6 separate regions of the Homo sapiens genome follow, and all the other regions are linked to region 4. Evidence: promoter capture Hi-C in 16 types of primary human blood cells and fetal thymus (Javierre and others, 2016). All regions are on one chromosome and are shown on one strand. Each heading gives the region's core, a stretch centred on a gene start or on the middle of the fragment in contact. The rest is flanking DNA. Distances are from core to core; before and after follow the strand shown.

Evidence for each region. Contacts are between HindIII fragments. The CHiCAGO score rates a contact against its expected background, and 5 or more counts as called.
Region 1: a fragment that was not itself captured here is called in contact with the fragment with the promoter of LINC02716 in region 4 in 6 of 17 cell types (endothelial precursors, M1 macrophages, M0 macrophages and 3 more); the score reaches 9.3 in endothelial precursors.
Region 2: a fragment that was not itself captured here is called in contact with the fragment with the promoter of LINC02716 in region 4 in 3 of 17 cell types (endothelial precursors, M1 macrophages and M2 macrophages); the score reaches 9.8 in endothelial precursors.
Region 3: a fragment that was not itself captured here is called in contact with the fragment with the promoter of LINC02716 in region 4 in 7 of 17 cell types (endothelial precursors, M1 macrophages, M2 macrophages and 4 more); the score reaches 14.6 in endothelial precursors.
Region 5: a fragment that was not itself captured here is called in contact with the fragment with the promoter of LINC02716 in region 4 in 2 of 17 cell types (endothelial precursors and fetal thymus); the score reaches 6.2 in endothelial precursors.
Region 6: a contact is called between a fragment that was not itself captured here and the fragment with the promoter of LINC02716 in region 4, in 1 of 17 cell types (endothelial precursors). The highest score is 6.2, in endothelial precursors.

Annotation. Positions count from the first base shown.
Region 1 is chr11:45,392,651-45,396,787 of GRCh38, forward strand. No RefSeq gene overlaps it. Among named protein-coding and RNA genes, the nearest start is that of LINC02687, 23 kb to the left of the region's middle. The HindIII fragment of the contact is 2,080 bases long and covers 1,554-3,633 here.
Region 2 is chr11:45,409,857-45,413,800 of GRCh38, forward strand. No RefSeq gene overlaps it. Among named protein-coding and RNA genes, the nearest start is that of LINC02687, 40 kb to the left of the region's middle. RefSeq lists enhancers at 1,270-1,930, 1,931-2,592. The HindIII fragment of the contact is 1,735 bases long and covers 658-2,392 here.
Region 3 is chr11:45,348,156-45,351,818 of GRCh38, forward strand. No RefSeq gene overlaps it. Among named protein-coding and RNA genes, the nearest start is that of LINC02696, 5.4 kb to the right of the region's middle. The HindIII fragment of the contact is 5,570 bases long and covers 1-3,663 here.
Region 4 is chr11:45,769,618-45,773,709 of GRCh38, forward strand. It overlaps LINC02716 (long intergenic non-protein coding RNA 2716), which reads left to right and starts at 1,815. Exons shown (of 2, transcript NR_027134.1): 1 at 1,815-2,097; 2 at 2,376-2,741. RefSeq lists an enhancer at 1,507-2,008. The HindIII fragment of the contact is 20,811 bases long and covers 1-4,092 here.
Region 5 is chr11:45,328,860-45,332,891 of GRCh38, forward strand. No RefSeq gene overlaps it. Among named protein-coding and RNA genes, the nearest start is that of LINC02696, 24 kb to the right of the region's middle. The HindIII fragment of the contact is 2,132 bases long and covers 403-2,534 here.
Region 6 is chr11:45,427,065-45,431,160 of GRCh38, forward strand. No RefSeq gene overlaps it. Among named protein-coding and RNA genes, the nearest start is that of LINC02687, 58 kb to the left of the region's middle. The HindIII fragment of the contact is 4,489 bases long and covers 1-4,096 here.

The DNA of each region.
Region 1 (4,137 bases), core at 1,344-3,843, 380 kb before region 4:
TTCCTGCTATTGCATTTTTACGGCCCACAGCTCCTCTGGATAGCATTTTGCCCATTAAATCAGATGTTTTGAAAAAAAAGAAAAAGAAAAAAAAAGGCCTGGTAATCATAACCATAAATCATAAGTCACGTTATTGTAAGTGGATGGCTTCCTGGCTTCCTGGGATCTGTGAATCGGAGGCAGTGTGTGGGAAAGCTTGCTGTAATGAGGCGATGGGGGAGGCCAGGTTTTCCCAGGGGGGTGTCGTCCACCAGCCAGATACTTCACAGAGCCTTGCTTCTGGATGACTTCCACCTCAGCGAGGGGCAGCACATTCGTGGTGAGGCTGGGGGCGGTGGGTCGGCGGGGGCACCAGGGAAAAGCGAATCACAAGAGGAGAATGATGTCGGCTGCCCTGAACCCTGCTTGATGTTTCTATGAAGAGGCAGAGCCCCATCCAGGATGCCCCCAGCTGGGTTTCTGGAGGGTGCGGAGACCTTGGCCAGGATGCCTCCAAGGGCCTGGGGGTTCCTGTGGTCCATCACGCTTGCTTAAGAGCTGGAGCCCTTGACTGACAAGAGGACAAGAGAACTCACATGGGTATGCAATGGGGGCGCCCAGGCTCCATCAGCAGTGCCTCCGTGATCCAGCCAGTTCTCCTCTGAGTGTGAATAAAGCCATTGCAGAAGGGTTTAGTAAACCCAAAGAGGAGAATTTTCTAAAGGCGCTGGATACACATAAAATACAAGTGTCTGAGCCCTTCCGAGAGGGCCTGGGCTCTGAGGAAAGGGAGGAAAAGGATAGCTAAATGTTTATGAGCAAGCAGCAGATCTTACTCCCCAGACGTAAGGAAACGGAAATGGGCACAGAGAGACTCAGGTGCTTGCCCAAGGCTGCACAGCAGCCACAGGCCCAAAGACTCCTCACTCATGCAGTCAAGGATCACCCGTCCTCAGTGGCTCAGCTAGGGAAAATGTATTTAGCGCTGTTGGGGACTAGGCCCTGCCCTCAGGCCTGGAGGTCTGGAGGATGAAGATACATTCCTGTCCTTCAGAAGCTTGTGCCATGGCAAGAGAGAAAGACACAATGCAATTATGATGCCAGGCCCGGAGAGCCATGGATTATTCTGGATGTATAGCCATGGTTCATTCTCTGAGGGAGTTGAGACAGCAGAGGAAAAAAAATACTGCACCAGAAGCAAGAACACAGATTCTGCGAGGGGACAACAGTGGGAGGGGTGGTCTTTGTGTGTGTCGGGGGCAGGGGAGACGGGGTGGAGGCAGAACTAAGGAGACCCTCCCCTGCACCACGCTTTGGCTGGATCTTGAGGGACACGTGGACATTGATGGGGAACAGAGGACTCCGAAGGGCGCTGCCGGGGGTGGAGAAGGTCTGCCGAAAGGCATGGAGGTGCAGAAGGGCAGGGCACAGCCGAACTGCAAGGTGTAGAAGGCCAGCTGGGAAGGGTTCTGATACCAAAGGATTTTGGACTTTGTCCCACAGGCACTAGGGATGCAGAGACAGATCCTAGGAAGGAGGAGCGTCAGAGTGAGCCAGAAAGATCCCTCTAGAAAAGCTTTTCCCACTGTAGTGAGGCTGATGGAGGCAGGAGGCCGGCCAGGAGGCTTTGGCCATGCCCACGAGGAAGGGAATGAGAGTGTCTGACCTCAGGCACTGGTTGTGGGCACAGAGGGTAGAGGGTAGTGGATGTGGGGAGTGAGGAAGGCGGGTTTCCTGGCTGCCTCTGAGGTTCCAGCATAAGGAGAACCCAGACAGGCAGGGGCAGTGTTAACTTTAGTCCTTCCTGACCTCCGGCCTGGTCCACCTTTGCTGAACCACCCGGTCTCTCTAAAGCCTGAGCAATGTAAACACCCAGCTGGGCAGGTTCCAGTCCCCGCTCCCCAACCCCTAGCTGCGCAACTTCGGACAAGTCACTCCCCATCTCTGACCTTCTGGGCTTTAGTTTCCTTATCTGGAAATGGGATGACCTGGAAGCAGGGCTAACATGAGGATTATAAACTCTGTGTTTGTTTCAGATTGGTCCTGGCAGGAAACAAGCTCATTCAAATTGGGTAATTGGAAGGGAGTTTTTAAAAGGACTATTTCCAAAGATCTGGGTGGGTGTAGAAAAATCTCAAGGGACAATTCGGTGCCCAGGGCTGGTGACAGTCATCCCAGTGACCACCCGGAAGCCTATATGGGGAGGGCCACCTGGCAGGGGCTGGGGCTGGGGCTGCAGCAGCCTCCCTCTGACCATTCAGATGGGGAGCCCTGGTCCCTGGGCTTCAGTGGTCTATACCCCAGGAGACTGAGTGTGGGTCTCTCCTTGAGTGTGAGAAAAGCAGTGGGCAGCCCCAGCCAACAATCAGTCTCATATGGAGGTCATAGGAGATTCACTTTCTTGATCAGCCTCCTAGAACCAGGCCAAATCAGGGGGACAGGCCAAGGGAAGCTGCTGATTTAAAATTCAAATGTGTCCAAAGCCCTCACCCCAGGACCTGAAGTTCCCTTTTCCACTTTCTATGCCCCATCTCTCTCTCCTGCTTCTTTTCTTCCCTCCGTCTCTGTCTTTCCTCCTCCACTCTGTACCTCCCTTCCACCTTTCTCCTCTTCCTCTTCCTTCCTCCTCTCTTCTCTCTCTGGCCTTCTCTCCCTATCCCCCACCTCTGACCTTACTTAACAGCCAACACCGTCCAAGAGACACTCCTCAGTCAGAATCGCCCTCACTTTTTGACTTCACATTTGTGGACCTTGGCCTGAGGGAGATGTGGTGTTGTGCAGGTGTTGGGGGCCCCAGTCACCCTGGTGGCTGTGTCTAACACACGGAGGCTCTTGGGGAATCCAGAGAGGTGTAGAGCCTTAGCCTTCCATTTCCACCAGCAGTTCTTGACCATCCGCAGTAACTGGCCTAGTCAGTGCCTGGCTGCCCAGCACTGTCTGGACATCAGTGGGATGATGGTCAGTCCTGGGGAGGAAGCAGCTGCTCCATGAGAAAGAGTATGTGTCTGCGTGTGTGTGTGTGTGCGTGCGTGTGTCTCTGTTTGTAGGGAGCAGGCCGGGATTAGCCAGAACAGACAAACTTTTTCAGGTGAATGATGAACAAGGACAAAAAAGATGGGAACCATTTAAATTGTACCTAGTGTGTGCTAGGCACTGGGCAAGGGGCTTGCACATACTTTATCTAATTCTCACATTGGCCCTACATGGTTCTACCCATTTTAGAGGTGAGGAAAGCAGTATTGAGGACCAGCTAAAGGCTCGTGTCTGTGATAGGCTGTGTGAGGACTAGGGAACAAGAGTAAGCGCAGTACAAGTCAACAACACTATTAGTTGGGCACCTACCATGTGTCAGGCACTGGGTTATAAGGAAGCCTCCATGCTTGTCTGGCACAGTTCCAGAGCAGAGAGAAATGAAGCTGGTGACCAGAGAACCCTGCGACATCAGGAGTGCAGATGACTTAGGCATCTTCTAGAAGTGCAACTCCTCCATTGAACAGATGGGCAACTGAAGCCCAGAGGGAGGAAGTGTTTTCCCCGAAGCCACATGGCGAGTCCTCTCGTTCTAGCTCACAACACTGCTTCCAAGGACGTTTCTTCTGCTTCTAGGCTCCCCCTGTTTTGAAGCTGATTTTTATTCCCTCACTTAAACAATTAAGCTTTAATACACTAAAAACAGATCATTATCTTCCTAAGGTTTAAAAAGCAAGATTACTATTTGTAACACAAGTAATTAGCTACCTTCTGGTGTTTCCTTACACTCCTCTTCCCCAAAGGATTATGCTTTTTTATGTTGCAGAGGGCCCAGCAGCTAGATGTGATGGCCAAAGCTGTGGCCCTGGAGGAGGCAGAGGGAGGATCCTGGGATCTTGGGAGCTGGAAATGCTCCAAGTAGGGAGGAAAGGGGGCTAGGGTTGGCTGTGGGGGATCTGCCTACGTGCAGAGTTCCTCTTTAGGGGTGCGGGCTTGGTTCTGACGTCACTGGACCATCCCAGCCCAGATTGTTTGTTTCCTGGGCCACATTGCTGCTCTGGATAAAGATGGCCACTGCCTCAGGGATTTACGGGGGTGTAAATCAACTGTAACACCAGATGTGGAATCTTCCCATAGAGGATCTTCAAGGGGTCTATGAGCCCTCTGCATTCAAATGAAATGTCTGGA
Region 2 (3,944 bases), core at 275-2,774, 360 kb before region 4:
CTGTCCTCTATCTTCTCCTCTCCCTGTGGCACTGCCCTAGCAGGGCCTGCCTGCATTGCTCATTGCTCCAGGCTTTATGTTTGGAGAAGAGAGAGAGAGAGATGAACTGGGGCCCAGGAAAATATGCAAGTGGGGGCTGTGCATGAGGACCATGGCTCTGCTGCTTACCAGCTCTGGGAGCTTGAGCAAATTGCTTAAGCTCTTCTTGCCTCAGTTTACTGCTCCGTAAAATAGGGATGGGATTGTTGTGATGGTGAGAAAAGAGCTTGTCTGTGACCATGCCTGGCACAGGCACACAGTAAGCTCAATAGATTGATCAAATATTCTCTTTTCTTTCTGGCGACTGGCAGGTCCGCATTCCAGGAAGAGGGCAGAAAGAAGTGGGAAGACTGTGCTTCTCTCTCTCTCCCTGTCTTTCTCTCCCTCTCTCATTTCCTCCTTCCCTTCCCTTTCCTCAGAGCAACAGAATGACCTGTCTCTCAGAATGAGCCTGGGCCCAGGGAGCTACATTCCCAACCTGCCTCTGAAAGGCAACCCTGGAGGGCAGGTCCTCTCAGCAGGCTTGGACACCCTCTGTCCCTCCATCTTCTCCCTTTAGGTTCAGACCAAGGCTGCGCCCTCACCCAATTGCCTTTATTCTGAACCTGCTGCAAGACAAGCTTCCATCTTCTGCAGGAATAAGTATGGCTGGAAAAAGTGCAGGCCAAGGAGTCAGCCCTGCACCTCCCTGGCCAGGGGCACTGCATACATTCCTGGCCTGGTGACTTCACGCATCTTTAGGGCAGGAAGAGTACCCTGGCAGGGCTGTTAGGAGGACTTGCTGAAATGACATTCTTAATGCTGCTAGTTCAGAGGGCTTTAGTCCACGTCCTTCACTCCTATAAATTTCCTTTCACTCTGTGCAAAGTGCAGAGGTTGTCAGGCAGCAGCTTCAGAGCCCCTGACTCCCCTGGGGCATGGTGGCCCTCACTGGATCTGCTTCCTCCCTCGAGGTGGGGGCCTTCCCTGTCTGTCTGTGAGTACCCTGGTCAGCATGTGGGTCTGTCTCTTGTCCGATTTCCCTTCCCTTGTCCTTATCACCCCTCCCAACCCGACCCCCGACCAGGACAATGCCAAGGTTTGCAGGAATTCTCACCCACACCCCGCCTCCACCTCCCTGCCCTTCCTCTCTGTGGGGAGCCCTCTGTGTCGCACAGAAAGAGAGCAGCAGATGTTAAAGCCGTGTTCCCTTGTCCGCACTCAGCCCGCTGGGGTGTTTGATCTCTGGCTTAACAAGTTCAGCCATTTTTCTGAAATGAGGAAAAGATTCAGACAGAGAAAGAGGGATGGAGACAAAGAATGAGAGAGACCATAAGATAAAATGATCCAGAGACTGAGAGGAAGATAGAAGAGAAAGACAAAGCAAGGCAAACACAGAGAGAAAGAGAGAGAGACTAGAGCAGGGACCACCTTCTCTTACAATCCTCACCTTCCCCCTTCCCCATTCTCCCACCTCTCACCTGACCTCCTGCCCTGCCTCCCACCCTGCCTCCCACCCTGCCTCCCAGGCCCTGATGACTGGTGACCATCAGCCTTGTAGCCACCATATCAACTCTGAGTGACCGTGCCCTCCCTGGGGGAGGTTACAGCCTCTCTCCTGTGTGACAGGGCATTTGCTTAAGATTCAAAGGCCTCTGATACAGAGGACGCTTCCCTCACAAGCTGGGAAGAGTAGCCCTGTGGTCCGGAGGGCTGGCTGGCAGGGGACAAATGGGCTGCCAGGATGGAGCCAAGAACTCCTGCTTTGCTCACTCCTGGGGCTGAGCAGCCTTTCAGGAGCACCCGGGGAGCCAGCAGTGAAGCCCTCCCTCACTCAGCATTAACTCCAAATTTATTTCTTGCTCTGCCTCTCCCTCCCCTCTTCCCTCTCCCCTCCTTTGTCTTCCCAGTATTCGATTTCCTATTTGAGAACCGTTCCAGCCTGTGCCACTGCTGAAATCCCATCCTCGGTAACCAGTGAAGGCTGTTTTAAGCCTGTGAGTCAGAGACCAGTGCTGGTTTTTATTAAAGGCAAAAGGAAAATAATCTGATTTTTAAAAAGCAAAACACCTTCTTAATGTTTCATGGGACATCAAACTGTCTGAGATAATATCTTAAAACACTCATATACACATGATAGCCCCCAACCCCTTCCCAGCCTCAGGTGGGAGTGTCAAACCTGCTTGGGTTATTTTTTTCCCCGGGCTAAATGTTTCTAGGTCACTTCCATCCTCCCCCACTGAGAGCTCCCATACAGGAAACGCTAAGGATTCCACTCCAGTCCCCGAGCCTCCATAATTAATGGGATCACTGGAAACCAGCCGGAAGGATGCTAGGGGCGAGGGGTCTTATCTCTCTGGTCTCCAGGCAGAGAAGCTTCTCGCCAGATGAGATGCTGAGTCTATGCAGGCCCTCGGGCCACATCTGCTGACACTGATCCAGCTCCTTACTAGCCCACCTGGGGCTGGCAGTCTCGGGGCCTCTTTCTCTTCCTGCCCCACCACCCTCTGGAGCTGTCTCTTTCTATAATTCTTCCCTCGTCGAGTCTATTAGCGTTCTCCGGCAGGCTCTGCCAAGCTCAGCTGCATCTCCTTGTCTAGTTTATATTAGAAGAGAAAGCTCTGGCGTGTTTTCCCCTTACCTGAGGAAAGAGATGCTTCTCTTTTTCAAGACACTCATAGCCTTTGATGAAGCCCAAGAAAGGCTTAAATTATAATGAAATGCAGTCATCTCCAGACGAGATTACCCGGGAGTGCTTCCGGCTGCCTTGTGAAAACGGCCTTCCAGCAGAAAGGTAGCTGGGTGCAGGGGCTGCCCTGGATGCCTGTATGGCCCTGTGTGCAGCTTGTCACCTGCCTGCCCCTCCTCCCTGCCTGGACTATTGCAGTAACCTCCCGACTGGGCTTACCACCTCCTGTTTACCTCCCCTCCCCTGCTGATTCTTTCCTGCTCTGGTCTGATCACTTTCCTTCTCAGAGACCTTCAGTGGCTTTTAAATTCCCAGTTCAAATGCCCCCTCCACTCCTTCACCCAGCCCTCCCAACACCTTCCAGGTGGGCTGCACTGCACCACCTCACTGACATCCCTGCCTACCACTGGTCTGGTCTGTAGCCCAGATTAAAAATAAAAACAAAAAACAAAAAACACTTCACTTGTCCTGCTTGGGATTATCATTATTTGTATATTTGAGAAAAGAAAGAAAATAGCCCATATGGACAAAGGCCCACCATGTGCCAGGTGCAAATGTCAACCTGCCTTGGAGTCACACAGACCTGGGTTCAAACCCTCACTCTGCCCACTTACAGCTAAACGCCCCAGAACAAGTTTACTCCTATCTCTGAGCTTGCTTCCCTATCTGTTAAATGTGACTAATGATACCTACCTCATAGGACTGCTATGGCGGTTAAGGAAGACTAAGTGCTGAGCACATAGTAATTGCTCAATAAATACTAGCTGCTCTGCTTTTTAAAAAAAATTCCTCATAATGACAAAGGAATGATTGGCCTGGTTTTATGGAGGATGAGGTGGTTCTCAACCTTGGCTATGTTTTAAAAACACCTGGTGTAATAGTCCATTCTCATACTGCTATGAAGAAATACCCGAGATTGGGTAATTTATAAAGAAAAAGAGGTATAATGGACTCACAGTTCCACATGGCTGGGAGGCCTCACAATCATGGAGGAAGGAGGAGCAAAGGCTCATCTTACATGGTGGCAGGCAAGAGAGCTTGTACAGGGGAACTGCCTGTCATAAAACCATCAGACCTTGTGAAATTTACTCACTGTCACGAGAACAGCACAGGAAAACCTGCCCCGTCTTTCAATTACCTCCCACTGGGTCCCTCCCATGAGACGTGGGGATTATGGGAGCTACAATTCAAGATGAGATTTGGGTGGGGGGAACAGCCAAACCGTATCACCTGTGGA
Region 3 (3,663 bases), core at 1,164-3,663, 420 kb before region 4:
ATGTAGCACTTTGGTTTGGAAAGCAGGCAACAAACCATAGTAATGTTATCAGTCCTCATTGTCACCAATAGAAATCACCGACATTTTCATGTATTACAGTTGCTACAGATATGTTGAAATCAAGCTCAGGCTCATCTGTGCAGCAAAATTGGCAATTAGATCCACTATTAGACCTTGTAACATAAAAGCATAAATAAAGAAGCATATATCGGCCAGGTATGGTGGCTCACGCCTGTAGTCCCAGCATTTTGGGATGCTGAAGCAGGCAGATCACTTGAGGTCAGGAGTTCGAGACCAGTCTAGTCAACATGGTGAAACCCTGTCTCAACTAAAAATACAAAAATTAGCCAGGCATGGTGGCAGGAACCTGTAATCACAGCTACTCTGGAGGCTGAAGCAGGAGAATCACTTGAACCCAGGAGGCAGAGGTTGCAGTGAGCTGAGATCGCAACACTGCACTCCAGCTTGGGTGACAGAGGGAGACTCCATCTCAAAAAAAAAAAAAAAGGAGCATATGTATGATTCAATCACCATTTTAAAATATATTTTGTATTTCAATAAGGCTGTAATCATATGTGTCTTCAGCATTTAAAAAGTTTTATTCCAAGGTGCCCCTAGGCTTCCCTGCCAGAGGTATCCCTGACATGAAAGAGGTTAAGAAGCCCTATCTAGACAAAAAAAGGCAGGCCTTATTTAGACCAGGGAGTAGTATTAATAGAAGGAGCAAGGCAGGGCAAAGGTACTATCTTTGATCCCGGCAAAGTACAGCTGGATATGGCAAAGCAATGCCTGACCCAACCTGAATGCCAGGTAGCCAGACAAACCAGTGTGGTCTAGAACAGTCTAGAAGAGCAAATTGCCTGGAAGGGTGCTGCTCATGACAATCCCAGGAAGCACAAACAAGGGAGCCCTTGAGGAAAATCTCCCCCAAAGTACCTGTGGTCACTGTTTAAAGCTCTGGCTTTGACCCAGGTCAGACCTGGCTCAATCCTGGCTTCATAATCACCTTTGGCAAGAAATGGTTCACCTAATCAGGGTGAACCTCAGTTTCTCTCTCCATCTGTAAAATGGTAATAATACCTCCCTTAAGTTTTTGTTAAAGTTATGTAATTTATTCATAAATATGTTAAACAAAGAAAGCAAATTACAGAATGATAGATACTTCATTTATGTACAATATTAAGTAATACAAAACTATGTTATATAATGTTTATAAAGACTTCTGCACTAATATAGAAAATTATGCGTGGGGATCAAAAACACCAAATTCAATTTCCTAGTGCTTATATATAGGAAATGGGGGAAAATAGGTTTGGGATAAAAAAATGATCTGTGTTTGTAAGTGGAGAATCTGAAATAAATACATATGGCAAAGATTAAGATTTGATAATGCTTTCTTTTAACCTTTATTTAAGTGACCTACAATAAGCTGAACACTTAAAAACATACAATTTAATAAGTTTTGGCATATGTATACTCTCATGAAACCATTACCATAATCCAGATAATGAACATATCCATCATTCCCAAATGTTACCTCATTACAACATGCCATGTTGTAATGGCTCATCTGGCAGCCTGACTTGAGAGTGTGTGCCTTCATCCTCCTGAAGAGGGTCAACTGTATTCCTTTATTATCTTGCTTATTCTGGAGAACCTGTAGTAATATCCTCTGTTTCATTCCTAATATTGGTGATATTAGAATGTTACCTAATATTCTTCTTTTTTGTCTGTCTTGCTAGAGTTTTATCCTTTAGAAAATATTTTCAAAAAACCAGCTCTTTTTTTTTAGTTGCTTTAATAGTTTTATTGCTTTCTATTTCTTGACTTTGCTCTTTATTATTTCTTTCTTTCAGCTTGTTATGGGTTTAATTTGCTTTTCTTTTTCTAGGTACTGTAGTTGGGAGCTAAGATTGTTGATGAGAGTTTTCCTTTCTTCTAATGTATGCTATGCATTTAGTGCTATAAATTTCCCTCAGCACTGCTTAGCTCTCTTCTACAAATTTTGATATGCTTATTTTCATTTTCATCCAGTACAGCATATTCTTTTGTTTCCCTTGAGACTTCCACTTTGACCCATGGAATATTTAGAAACGTGTTGCTTAGTTTCCACCTGTTTGGGTGAGTTTACTGTCATCTTTCTGTTGCCGTTCTCTAATTTGATTCCACAGTGGTCAGAGAACACACTTGGTATGATTTTAACTCTTTCAAATGCGTTAAAGTCTGTTTCATAGCCCAGAATGTGGTCGATTTTTGGAGTATGTTCCCTGGGCACTTAAAAAGAACATACCTTCTGTTGTCAGGTGGAGCATTCTATGAATGCTGATAAGATCATTTTGATTGATAGTGTTGCTGAATTTTTCTATATCCTTGCTGATTTTCTGTCTAGCTGTCCCATTAATTATTGAGAGAGGGGTGTGGATTTGTCCAGTTCTCCTTTTAACGTATCTATTTTTTGCTTCACATATTTTGCAGCTGTTATTTGGTGTGTACACATTTAGGGTTGATATTTCTTCTTGATGGATTGACCCTTTTATCATTTTGTCACATTGTTCTCTATCTCTGGTAATTTTCTTTGCCCTGAAATTTACCTTATCTGATGCTAATATAGCTACTCCCACTTTGATTGTTTGCATGATATATTTTTTCCATCCTTTCACTTTCAATCTGCCTATATTGTTAAATTTGAAGTGAGAATTTCTTACAGGTGGCATGTAGCTAGGTCATCATTTTCCTCTACTCTGCCAATCTGTGTGTTTTAATTGGTGTATTTAGACCATTGACATTTAATGTAATTATTGATATGTTAAGGTTTAAGTCTACCATTTTGTATTTTCTATTCTCATTTCTGTTTTCTCTTTCTTGCCTTCCTGTGAGTTATTTTAACTTTTTTGTTGAATCTCATTTTTATTTATCTAGTGTTTTTGAGTGTCTTTCTGTATATTCTTTTTAGTGGTTGCTCTAGGTATTTCATTTAATATATACATAATATCGCATTCTCTGGGGTCATCATTTTACCAATTTGAATGCAGTGGAGAAATTTTTACCATCCTCTATATCCCTTTACCTTCTCCCACTTATAATTGTCTTAAATATTTCCTCTACAAACATTTAGATAGATATCAGCAGATACAGGGGAAGTACTTTTTTGTTTGTTTTGTTGGTGGTCTTTGGCTGGAGTCAAGCAGTTATTGTCCAAAAGCCTTCTGTCTTGCTAAGTTGCCCCATTCTTAGTCCTTTATCTTAAGAAAGGTGGCTTTTCTTGGGACTTTTTTTTTTTTTTTGTCTGATGCCGTTAGCATTACTGGGTCACTGGCTTCCTCAGCTCTAGGTTTGGAATATATGAGGCAAAGGAAAACCCAGAAAATTTGCCAGCATGGTGCTCCTTAGATCACAAGGTTCCTAGTCATTCCACCTTTCTAAGTCTTCTTATGTTTGTTTTTTGTATAATGCCCAGGGGTTTTAGTTGCACTTTGTGGGAGGAAGAAGAGAAAGTACATTTACTCCATTTTCCTGGAAGCAGAAGCCCTGATGCATTTCTAAAGCTGGCCTCTTGTTCCACTTTCACAAAAGACATTTCCCTATGAAAGAGCGTTAACATCCCACTGCTCTTCAAAATGGAAAACAAGTTTGCAGTAAGAGACAAGATGATCAGCAAGGTTT
Region 4 (4,092 bases), core at 565-3,064:
ATAATGTTGGTGTAATCCATAAGATTCAATTATGGTTATCAGACAATTAGGCACACCACAGCGAGGTTATTGCATAATTAATGCTCAGTCCCCATCTCAGCCTCTGAGAGTGACACAGGTTACAAGATTCACCTGCCCCGCATCTGGGAGAGGAGCAGGGGCACCCAGGATGGGGAATGACCTCCCTGTGGGCTCAGAGGAGGATGTTCTTAGGACCCCAGAGGCATGGCAAAGGGACAGTGTGTGGCTGAAAGAGCTTGAGTCAGTGTGTGCCCAGGGCCCTCACGCCTGCCATTGTGTTTAGGACTTGGGCTTTAATCTCTGGAGCGAGATTCAAATCCTGCCTCAACTACTGATTGGCTATATGGCATTAAGCACTCGCCTTACATTTTTAAAGCCTCCATCTCCTTGTCTTTTAAAGAAGGGAATTGATGATGTTATGAAAACTGGATGAGAGAGTTTGCATATTGGTTAGATGGTTCCTGCAGTACTATTTTCATTATTTCCCTCTCTGAGCCTCAGTGTCTTCATCTGTAAAATGGGAATAATTAGCCTCACCTTGCCTAGGCTTGAAAGATCAGCCGGTAGTTTGAGACCTGCCTGGGCAATATAGCAAGACCCTGTTCACCACAAAAAAGGAAAAAAAAAAGGATGAAAGATCAGTTTGTGAGTCAAGTAAGACACACATGTGAACGGGATGTGTGGAGTGCTTTGCTAACGCGCCATTGTCTTAGTTACTATGTGCCTGGTTTTCTGCTCAACCCTCCAGGGTACGACTTTGTACAAGTCCCCAGGTCTCAACAGGACAGTGGGTGATCAGCCCACCTGAGAAGTGAAACTCATGATTTGGGTGAGTAGACTAGAGGAGAATCACTTCTTTCTTTCTTTTTTTTTAGACGGAGTCTCGCTGTGTCACCCAGGGATCTCAGCTCACTGCAACCTCTGCCTCACCGGTTCCAGTGATTCTCCTGCCTCAGCCCCCCGAGTAGCTGGGATTACAGGCACACGCCACCACACCTGGCTAATTTGTTATTATTAGTAGAAACGGGGTTTCACCATGTTAGCCAGGCTGGTCTTGAACTCTTGACCTCAGACGATCCACCTGCCTCAGCCTCCCAAAGTGCTGGGATTACAGGCATGAGCCACCATGCCCGGCCTGAGAATCATTTCTTGAGCTATGATCTGTAACATTCAAATGAGCCTCAACGGACACAAAACAGAAAAATCATCAAAAATGTCGGTGAAAAGTTCAGGTGGGAGAACTCAGGTGATGGTGCAGACAGAAGCAAGTAGGGGAGAAAGCTGGCTTCAGGGAGAGTGGTTAGGCCTTTGTGAGAAAGACTGGGGACTTCTCATATCATCCTCTGTGTCCCAGTTCCCAAAACACACACGCACATGGGCACATGCATGCAGGCACACAAAAACAAGCCCATACACCAGACGAAAAAATACAGATGCAGGTACACACACATGGACATGGACATGTGTGTGCCTGTGCCCATATAAACAAACATTAGTGCACACACACACTCACACACACACAGGCTCGGGCAGTATGTGCTCACACACAACCATACACACAGATACGCACAGAGGTACATTCACACACAGACCAACACACACAGGCACACAGATGCATGCACGCATGCACGTGCGCGCACACACACACACACGTGCACCCACCCTCAGTGATAACCTTCCAATCCACTGGCCTCTCCGAAATTAGCACAGACCATTTTCCCACGACCCTTTCTCGCTGAGCGTGTGATTCCAAAACTGTCCACAAGAAGGTGCTCGGGAGCCAGAATTCAGGCGTTCCCGGCCCGCGGACGCTTAGAGAGGGGAGCTTCGGAGTTATGGGGGGACCCACCCTTCCATTTAATAACTGAGAAAGCCACGGGAGGGGACTTGCTGGGCTCACAGCCAGTGATCCCTGCCCTGTTTCCTTATGGGGACTGCGGTCAGAAATGGGGAGTGGGGCAGAAACTGTCACTGTCACGGTCCTGTTTAGAGAGGAAGGTCGGAGAAACCAGTGCCGTGGAAGGCTCTGGGGCGTTGACAGGCGCTGTCCCCAGCTCACCGGCTCTATGACCCTGGGTAAGTTACCTGGCTTCTCTGTTCCTCAGTTTTCTCGTCTTCCCTGACCCAGGCTTTCCCGACTCCTCTAGGGGCCCCTTCCCCTCTCCATGAACACCTTCAGATCTCGGACTGTTTTCTCCACTCAAGTGGCATCTCAGCTATCCCCTCCCGGGTTAGGCCTCCCTGGCCCCTATTTAACGGTGTCCCCACCCCCACCACTATCTTGTTTGTACCAACACTTGCTGCCTGACAATGCACACTTGTTCATTTGTTCACGTTTATTTTGTCTTCTCCAGAAGAATGGAAACTTCGTCAGAGCAGGGACGTGAGGGTGAACTGCTCACCCGGGCACCGCTGGCGACCGGAACCCAGCTCCCTCCGGGCTCCGGGAGAGGCGGCCTCAGCTGTGTGCTGGTGCTGCCCTCCAGCGGCGCTGGGTCCCCATGGCACCTGGCTTTCTCCTGCTCCCCAGGGGCCTTTTCTTCTCCCGCCCACCTGTCACCAGCCGCCAGGGCAAGTCTCTGTGTGACTCTAGGGTGAAGGTGGAGGGACCTTGCCTCCGAGGATTCATCCCACCCGGATTCCGATGAGTGAGGGACCCTCTCTGGCACCTGGTGTTTGAATGGCCAGCCTCACAGTTAATAAAGACAAGTTTGGTATCAGCTGTGGGATCCGTCCAGAAAAAGACACCTTTGGGGCAGAAATATAATGGTGCCTGTCTCGACATAGTCTAATAAGGAAAGAAAGACAAGCCAGTCCAACGGTCCCATTTTACACATGAGGTCACTTCATCCCCACCTAGGACAGGAGGGTACAACGGCCTGGCCTAAGATAACCCTAGAATATGGTCACTCATTCTTCCACCCACTGAGAACCTCAGGGCAGTAGAGTTTTATGCAAAGCATGTGGTCCTGAAAAACTTGCATAATTCAAAGCGTGCATAATTTCTGACTAATTTTGCCAGAGAAATGAATGCAAAGTAGAAAGGATAGGTTGCATACATTACTCCAATTGTGGCATATTTTTGCCTTAATGCTGCTTTTTATTTCCCTGGCATTATCGCTAATATTTCATAACGCACTCTCTGCTAAATTAACAGTGCAGCATTTCCTGCCGGTGGTTTGGCCTTCTTCATAACGTTTTATCACATCTCACTTCCTTTCCAATGTTATCGATTTTCAGGTGCGTTTTTCAGCACCACCACTTAAAGAACACTTGGATGACATTGTTACAGGATATGGGTAAAATATTTAAAGTTATAATAACTGTGAACATTGAGAAAATGGCACACCAGTCACCAGAATCTCCTGCAGAAATTAGAAATTCAGAGGCATGTAAACAACAGTGCATGCATATAGAAAGCAGGTATTTCTATTTAATAACCAAAGCAACGTCGCCATGTGGCAGGTTTACAGTCCTCATTTAACAGCTCACTTAGTTCCTCCGACTCAAGGAAACTGCAATTCTTGACAGGTTTTTTTTTAACTGAGGGGCTTGGCATTATTTCCAGCTTAGTGCATAAACATGTATTAGCATTTTTATATTGCACCTTGCCAAAGTCACAGTTTAGACTCCCATAAACAGTGACTTCACCCTAAATGGTCACCCTAAATGGTTAAGGCTGTGTCCTTAACCCCAGAAGGGTGGAAATGTATGACTCCACCTAGTCATCTCAGATACGGATTTCAGAAATCTCAGCCACCCACCTCATACTTACACAGGGACCTTTTTGGAGGCAGCATCATCTGAGGCCGCTCTTGCCCAATTTGGCTGGCCCCACCTCCTCCCCAACGTCATCTTCTCTTGCAGTCTAGAGAGGGGGGCTACTCCCCCAATATAGCATCCATATTTAGATCCATGTTGGAGGGTGGGTAGAAAGGGGAGGTAGGATGAGGGAAAATTGAGTCTCAGTTTCACACATTTGTAAGATCGTCAGACTTTCCACATTGCCAAGAAACTCGTCAGCACAACCGCTGTGAATTGGCTTCTTGGCCTTCGTCTGCCCAGAATTGC
Region 5 (4,032 bases), core at 219-2,718, 440 kb before region 4:
CTGCTGTAAAGTCTGAAGAAAAGTCTGGGCTCCCTCGGTCTCTCTCCACCTTTGCAGCCTCCTTGCCCTTCTCCTCGACCCAGGCCATTCTTTTTCCTATCCTTTCTCCAACCAGATGTCACCCCAACACCTGTACACACCCCATCCAGCTCGGCCACAGAACTGACTCTCACTCAGGATGAAAGCAGTCTCCTTTCTTTTCAGTGAAAACCTGCCTTGACCCTTAAACCTGATGCTTGGCATTCCCTGATGCAACCAAACTGACTTCAGCCTGAGATCCAACATGAGGCTGAGCCATCAGGACTGCCTTGGCTGGACATTTCTCTCCCTCCTGCCAGGTACCCTGTTCTCAACCTCTGACTGGCTGTCACCTTCAGACTGCTTTTAATGGAGCAAAACGCAAGCTTTGCAATAATAAGGGGCTTCAACAAAAGCCTGTTCAGAACAGAGAGAGAATTTGAGGAATCTCAAAGCTGAAATCAGTCTGGTTAAGTTGGGAAATGCAGTGCTACAAGTTGGGCCAACAGCCCTAGAGGCCTACAGGGACAGAAGGACCCAATCTTTCTACACTTGGGTTTCTGTTCTTGTGTGGGTCCAATTTCTAGAGTTAAACTTCAGGCACAATTTCTAGATGTGCAACAGTAGTAGCTCTTATCAATGGAGCACTTCCAGTGTGCCTGGCTCTGTGCTGACCCCATTACATGGATTCATTATTTGGCTTCTAGAGTGGGTAGAATGGTGGCCCCCAAAAGATACATCTGTGTCCTAATGCCCAGAACCTGTGAATATGATCATATTTGGAAAATTGATCTTTGGTGATATAATTAAGAATCCTGGGTTGGAGTCATACTGTGTTATCTAGGTGGGCTCTCTATCCAATGACAAGTGCCTTTATAAGGGATCCATGAAGAAGAGACAGAGGGACAAAGATTGGAGTTCTGCAGCCACAACCCAAGGAACACAAAAAGGCAAGAATAGATTTTCTTTTTTCTTTTTCTTTTTTTTTTTTCGAGACAGAGTCTCGCTGCTTTTTCAAGACAGAGTCTCGCTGCTTTTTCGAGACAGCGTGTCGCCCACGCTGGAATGCAGCGGCACGATCTCAGCTCACTGCAACCTCCGCCTCCCGGGTTCAAGCAATTCTGCTGTCTCAGCATCCCAAGTAGCTGGGACTACAGATGCACATCACCACGCCCAGTTAATTTTTGTATTTTTAGTAGGGATGGGGTTTCCCCATATTGGTCAGGCTGGTCTCGAACCCCTGACCTCAGGTGATCCACCTGCCTTGGCCTCCCAATGTGCTGGGATCACAGGTGTGAGCCACCATACCCAGCCTAGATTTTCTCTATAGCGTTTGGAGGGAGTGCAGCCCTGCCGACACCCTGATTTCAGACTTCTAGCCTCTAGAACTGTGAGTGTGTAATTTTCTGTTGTTATAAGCCACCCAGTTTATAGTAATTTGTTACACCACCCAAAGGAAATAGAGGAGTCTCCCATCAACTCTGGAAAATAGACACAGTCATCTTCCATTTTATAGATTAGGAAACTGAGGCACAGGGCTTGGATAACTTGTCCAGGGTCCCAAAGGCAGGAAAAAGCAGCACCAAGATGAAAAACCAGTTAGAATGACCCCAGAGACCATCCTCCCAGCCACAGTCTGTGATGCCTCCTGCTCTGCTAGACTGCTGGAATGTGCCTAAAATAAGTAGGCATTTGTCCCCATTTTGCAGATGAGAAAAACAAGGCAACCGTGAAGTAACTGTTGGGGAAAATAAAACTGGGATGGAACATTGAAATTCAAAAGTAGTTCCTTGTATGCCTCTTTTCTTCATGCTCACAACCAGCCAGAGAAGTGGTTGTTACAACGTCCATCTTCCAGATGGGAAGATTAAAACAGTAGCTCTTTGAGGGAGGGACTGTTCACCATTGCTACCCTGAGCTAGCCCTGAGCCTGGCTGAGGTAGCTCAGGGAGGTGTGGTCATTCATCCAAGATCATGCAGCCTGCCAACATGAGGCCAGGGACTCAAGCCTGGGTTTTCTAATGCCAAAGCCTGTGTTTTCCCTCTGCTGAACAAATGCTGACCTCTGTTATCTCCAGACTATATGAGCAAATGGGTGGAGGGCAGAGAGACACTGTGAGGCCTGGAGAGAATGTTGGTGGCAGCTTTGAGACTGGGGTTGGGGGTGGTATGCCTTGATGACTAGAAGGGTTTGGACAGGTGAAGGAAACAGGACAGAAGAGATAAACTGACACCCAGCATGGGGATGCCAGGGTCTAGAGGCAGGAGGGAGGCTGGGAACCAAGGCTAAGGAAGGAAACCCAGATTTACTCTTCATCCTCCCTCTTCCTGAAGCTCTCCATGTACCCCAAAGCCCAGCCCCCAGTGATAACACTACAGGCCTGTGCCCTAATGGCAGGCCATGCATCAAAAGTCAGAAGATAGTGGGGCAGCCATGCTACTGCACACAACTTGATACATTTCCCAGGAGCCCTGGAATGTCGGCTCAGCTTCGGGAGTCACATCTGACTTCTCTAAGCTTCAAGGCAGTGTTCAGAAGTGAGAGGTGTCCTTCCTCTCCTTCTCATGAGTCTGTGTGGATGGTCAGAGAGCCGTATGTTCTCGTACACACCGTTTTCGAAAGGAGACAGTCCTTGACTTGAGTTTTAGGAATTCTCTTCCCAGTCTTTAGTCATTGATTTCTAGAAAAAAACCTTTTCCTCTTTATTATTTAACTTCTGCCTTCATCCCTGCCACCCAGGCTGAAGAACTGACAGTGAAGTATGCTTTCCTCAAAGGCAAGAGAAGGACAGGGTTATGGAGAGAGTCCTGGCCACGAGACGGGATCTCAGGGGTTTAGTATTAGCTCTGCCTTTAATTGGAATAGTGAGGATGAGTTTGGGTGCTGGAGTCAGACAGGTGCAGGTTCAAGTCCCAGCTAGACCACTTTCAGGCTGCATGGCCTTGGCCAAGTGGCTCAACCCCTCTGAGGCTATAAAATGGGAGTAATTGTGTTTGCAAAGCAGAGATTTGTGGGGAGGATGCATGAGCAAATGCACCGGCTCCGTAGAGCTCGGTACATAGTGAAGCTTCAGTGCTAATGATTATCATGACATTAGGTCTCTTACACCCCCTTCCTTCCCTGACTCAACTAAGTCATGCTGCTGGTCCTTGTCTGCCAGGCTCTAGCACAAGCCAAGAAGTCTCCCTCTTGTGGTTCCTTATTCCTGGAATTCTTGGCCCCCAGCTCCTTGAAAGCCTGGCTGCTCTTCATCTTCAGGCTCGGGGGAAATGCCACCTCCACACAGATCTTGTTCCTGTCCCTCCATCTCTTAACCCCCTCCCCACAATTGCTGATAATTGTGTTGATCTGATCACTTCTCATTGCCCCTGTGCTCCACTCGCCTGCAGCCTTGGTGTGGGAAGGGGCCACGTCTCTCCTGCCACTCTTGTGTCTCCATCACCCATGAGTGTTTGTGCAGTGACATGGATTGACTCAATGAACATTCAATTAACATTTGTTGATTTAATGAGTCACGATGTCTGACCCTGGGTAAACAACACGACACTTGTGGGATTCCGTTTTTCTCATCAGAAAAATGAGGAGGTTGGAATAAAAGGCTGAAACATATTATTTCCCCTAAGTTTCCCATGAACCTGTGAATGAATTCAACGGAACCAGGGAGTTAAGGTGCAGAATTGTTACAGAAACATGGCCTCTTTCTGCCCTCTAGTGGACGAGATGGTGAATGGCACTTCATCATCCCCACCGCCGCCCCCACTCTCCCGCCACTGTTTCTAATATATTAGCCCTGCCAAGAACCACTTCAGAAAGGAAAATATTCAGTGGCCAGAGAAAAGGGGCCATGTCTTCTTCATTAGGGTACACCCAGAGTCGAGCAGTGAAGCGTGGGAGACAGCTAGATTCAGCAGGAAGGGCACTGGTGGGACTGGGACCACCACCTACTCCCTGGGTGAAGTTGGGCGTGGTTCTGTCCTCTCGGAGCCTCTATTTCCCCATCTGTGCAGTGGGCA
Region 6 (4,096 bases), core at 775-3,274, 340 kb before region 4:
GGCCAGGCACCATGTTAGCAGCTTGCCAGGATCATTTCACGGACTCCTCATGCTAACTCCATGAGGCCTATCACGATCTGCATTTTGTAGAGCAAAACAGCCTCCAAGAGGCTAATTCCTTGCCCAAGATCCCTCAGTAAGTGGTGGGTACAGGCATCAAGTCTGTCTGTCAGTCAGTCTGTCCACAGGGCCACTCACCTTCCCAGTACTCCACACTATCACCCAGGTAATGCGAAAAGAGTCATAGAGAATGAAGGGGAAGCTAATTTGGCCCAAGCCCCAAGGACTTGGAGAACTCAAGAGGGGCATTTCAACTTTAGCCTTCTTAGGGCAGGCCAGCCACCAAATGGGGTCTCACACATTTGAAGTGTCCACAGATATTAATTGGCAACCTGGAAATCCGGGCTGTCAGCCACTGGTTTTATATCTACGGAGAAGGGGCTGACTTCTATATGGTTGTCCTGCTCATCTCCCTATTCTCCTGCCTGCTAGGAGAAAAATTGTCCCTGGACCCACTTTCTTACCTGCACACTTGCTCTCGCACATCAGGTACCATGCTATTGATTCTGGTATCATCAAGGCTTGCCACGTTCCAAATGCCAATCTTCTTTTCCTTGTTGGGCCCCTAATCTTTTAGAGCAGCAGTTCCCAACCCTGGGCACCAATGAAAATTAACATAGGAGCTTTAACAAATACTCATGCCCAGGCCTTCTAGTCTGCATGAAGGCCCAGGCACTAAGCATTTTATTTATTTTTTCTTTTAAGACAGTGTCTCTCTCTGTCACCCAGGCCGGAGTGCAGTAGCACAATCATGATTCACTGCAGTTCGATCTCCCGGGCTCAGGGAATTCTCCCAATTCAGCCTCCCGAGTAGCTGGGACCATAGGCACACACTGTCATGCCTGGCTAATTTGTTTGTATTTCGTAGAGACAGGGTCTTGCCATGTTGCTCAGGCTGGTCTCGAACTCCTGAACTCAGGTGATCAGCCCACCTTGGTCTTCCAAAGTGCTGGGATTATAGACATAAGCCACCTTGCCCCACCAGGCATAAAAATTCCCCAAAAAGAAGCACCGCTTTAAAGAAATCCCTTGGAATATGCTGCAGACCCCCTAAGCACTGCCGGGGGTTTCCTTTCCACTCACATCAGCGTGTTCCATCCTATTAAAGCCCACAGAACACAAATCAAATGATTCCTGCTGGCCAGAGAATGGGTCTTTGGAAAACAGAGCTGAGGCTTGGTGCTTGCGTCCTGAGGCGAGTTCTAACTGTGTCCCTGCCAGTTCAGTTTCTGTGGCTTCAGAGCCATCGGTACCAGCATTATTCCTGTGCCATCTCACCCACGATATCCAAAGCCCCACTGAGACTTTTATTGTCCACTTTATATTGTTGAACAGGAGTCTTCGATGCTTGTGGTCGTAATTTTAAAATATTAAATTACATTGAGCATTAAGGGCTATGTTTTCTGTTAGGAGACAGGTTAATTGCGGCTCTTCATCTTTAATTTTGAGATTTAAGCTGGTTTCCCATTTAGCTCTAATTGGTAGTGTTCCGGCAACCCTCCCTGACCTCTGAAGCCTTTGATATGGTTTAGAAATCCTTTTATGGAAGCCCCTTTTTCTTTTGTCCTGCACATTTAATAGATTTGTATTTCCTCAGTCATCTTTCCTTCTGTGGAGATATTTCAAAATCACACCATGAGTCTGCAGGGAATAAATGCCTCCTTTCCAGCAAATATATATATTTTTTAACAGCGATTGGCAAAAGAGAATTAATTGCCTCCATTCACACACACCTCTTCCTTGCTGTGTTCCATTTTCGTACGGAGATTTTTAATCCTTTCTTCTGTAGCCAGTGTGAATTTGTCTGTGAATGCTCACGCTCTTAAAGTGACGTTCTGAAATAGACCTAAAGAGAGTATCCACTCCAATCACTCCATTTTACTGATAATAATATCACCATAATCATGCTTTATGTGTCAGGGGAGAGCACTTATTGTGGGGAGAGGGACAGGGGGTGGTAATGAGCCCCTTGTCCCTGGAGGAGTTCAAGCATAATTTGGAAGCAGCTTGTCAGACATATTGTAGAAGCAAATATAGCATAAGAACTAAGAGGTTTTCTGTCAGGAAGACCTGAATTTAAATCCCTGCCACTCCCTGAGCCTTGAGCAACTTAGGTGTCATCTTGAGCCTCCATCTCCCAGTCTATAAAATGGAGTTAATAATAATACTTACCACATAAAGCTATGGTGGAACTGGGTGAAATGATACCTGGCTCTTAGTAAGTGCTCAGTAAACGCAGGTTGCTGTTATTAAATGTTATAGATGGCATCCAGGCTTCAGTGGTCAAGAAAGGGTAGGAAGAGGGAAGACATCAACAAAGCGAGGTTTTTAGAATTATCTTCAATCCTCAGAACTCAACAGCCTGTTAGAGTTTACAAAGTGCTTTTTGTTTTTGTTTTTGTTTGTTTGTTTGCTTGTTTTTTGAGACAGAGTCTCGCTCTGTCACCCAGGCTGCAGTGGTGCCATCTCTGGAGTGCAACCTCCGCCTCCTGGGTTCAAGCTATTCTCCAGCCTCAGCCTCCCACGTACAGATGCTCGCCGCCATACCTGGCTAATTTTTGTATTTTTAGTAGAGATGGGTTTTTGCCATGTTGGCCAGGATGGTCTTGAACTCCTGACCTCAAGTGATCCGCCTGTCTCAGCCTCCCAAAGTGCTAGGATTACAGGCGTGAGCCACTGCACCCGGCCAGAGTTTACAAAGTGCTCTCATGCCTGTAATTTCAACTTATCTTCACCACTGTCCTTTACCCAGACTAAGTGTGGAGACATGGAGGCTCAGAGAGGTGAAGTGCCTTGCCCAAAGTCACACAGCATACAGATTCAGACATACCCTTCCTTCGTGCTGCTTTCACAAAACTCTGCCATCTATCTGTTCTGTGTCCTTCTGCTTTATCATGAGGATATTTCCTAAGATCCCAGGATCTGCCTTTGCACAGTGGGCATGCTCTTTGTCCTCCCAGACTCTTATTCCAAGGGAGATGTGTGCCAATTTAAATGCAGGACTTGGAGCTGTTTCTTTTATTCCTAAGTATGTAGGGCAATCAAGCAGTCCAATAATAATAATACATAATGTTGGATACTCATAATGTACTTGTTTCATCTGGCAGCCTTAGAATTTTAATTTGATACAAGGACCATTATTACTCTATATTCATTAAATCCCATGTTAACCTCTTTTAAAAATGCATTTTCTGACAATCATAGAAGACAATTTTACATGAGGAAAGTCATTTAGGGAAGAAGATCTGCTCAATAGGTTTTTCCTAGCCTGATTATGGGCTGGGCTGACCACCTCACCCATACCCCTCACTTCCCACATTTTCTATCCCACAGTTCTAGTCTCCCCTGGCAGAGTTTAACAACATCAAGTACAAGTGGCCATTCTCATGGGGGACTCCTGGATGCATCTGTAGGAGGGGCTTCCCACCAGCTCTGATCATAGCTCAGCCAGCTCCCAAGTGAGCCCCTTGGCAGAAAGAGGCCCTGTGTGCCTCACATGCACCAATGTAATGATACCAGGAAATTTTAAAGGCTCGTAATTATAAAAGATTCAACAATTAGAGGAAAGACAGAATAGTTCAGAGCAGAAGGAGAGGGAGGGGAGGGGAGGGATGATGTGGGAGGGGGTGGGGGAAGTGGGGTAGATCCTGCCTGACCTTATAGAATTATACACTCAGGATGGAGCTGGAGGCCATTATTCTTAGAAAACTAATGCAGGAACAGAAAACCGAACACTGCATGTTCTCACTTATAAGTGGGAGCTAAATGATGAGGACATATAGACACATAGAGGGGAACAACAGATACTGGCGCCTACTGGAGGGCTGGGCGGGGGGCGGTGGGAGGAGGGAGGCAATCGGGGAAAATAACTAATGGGTGCTAGGCCTAATGCCTGGGTGATGAAATAATCTGTATAACAAACCCCTGAGACACAAGTTTAACCATATAACAATCCTGCACACGTACCCCCTTAACTTAAGATAAAAGTTAAAAAAAAGAAAAAAGAATTATACATCTAAGAGTTGATCAGGGGCCA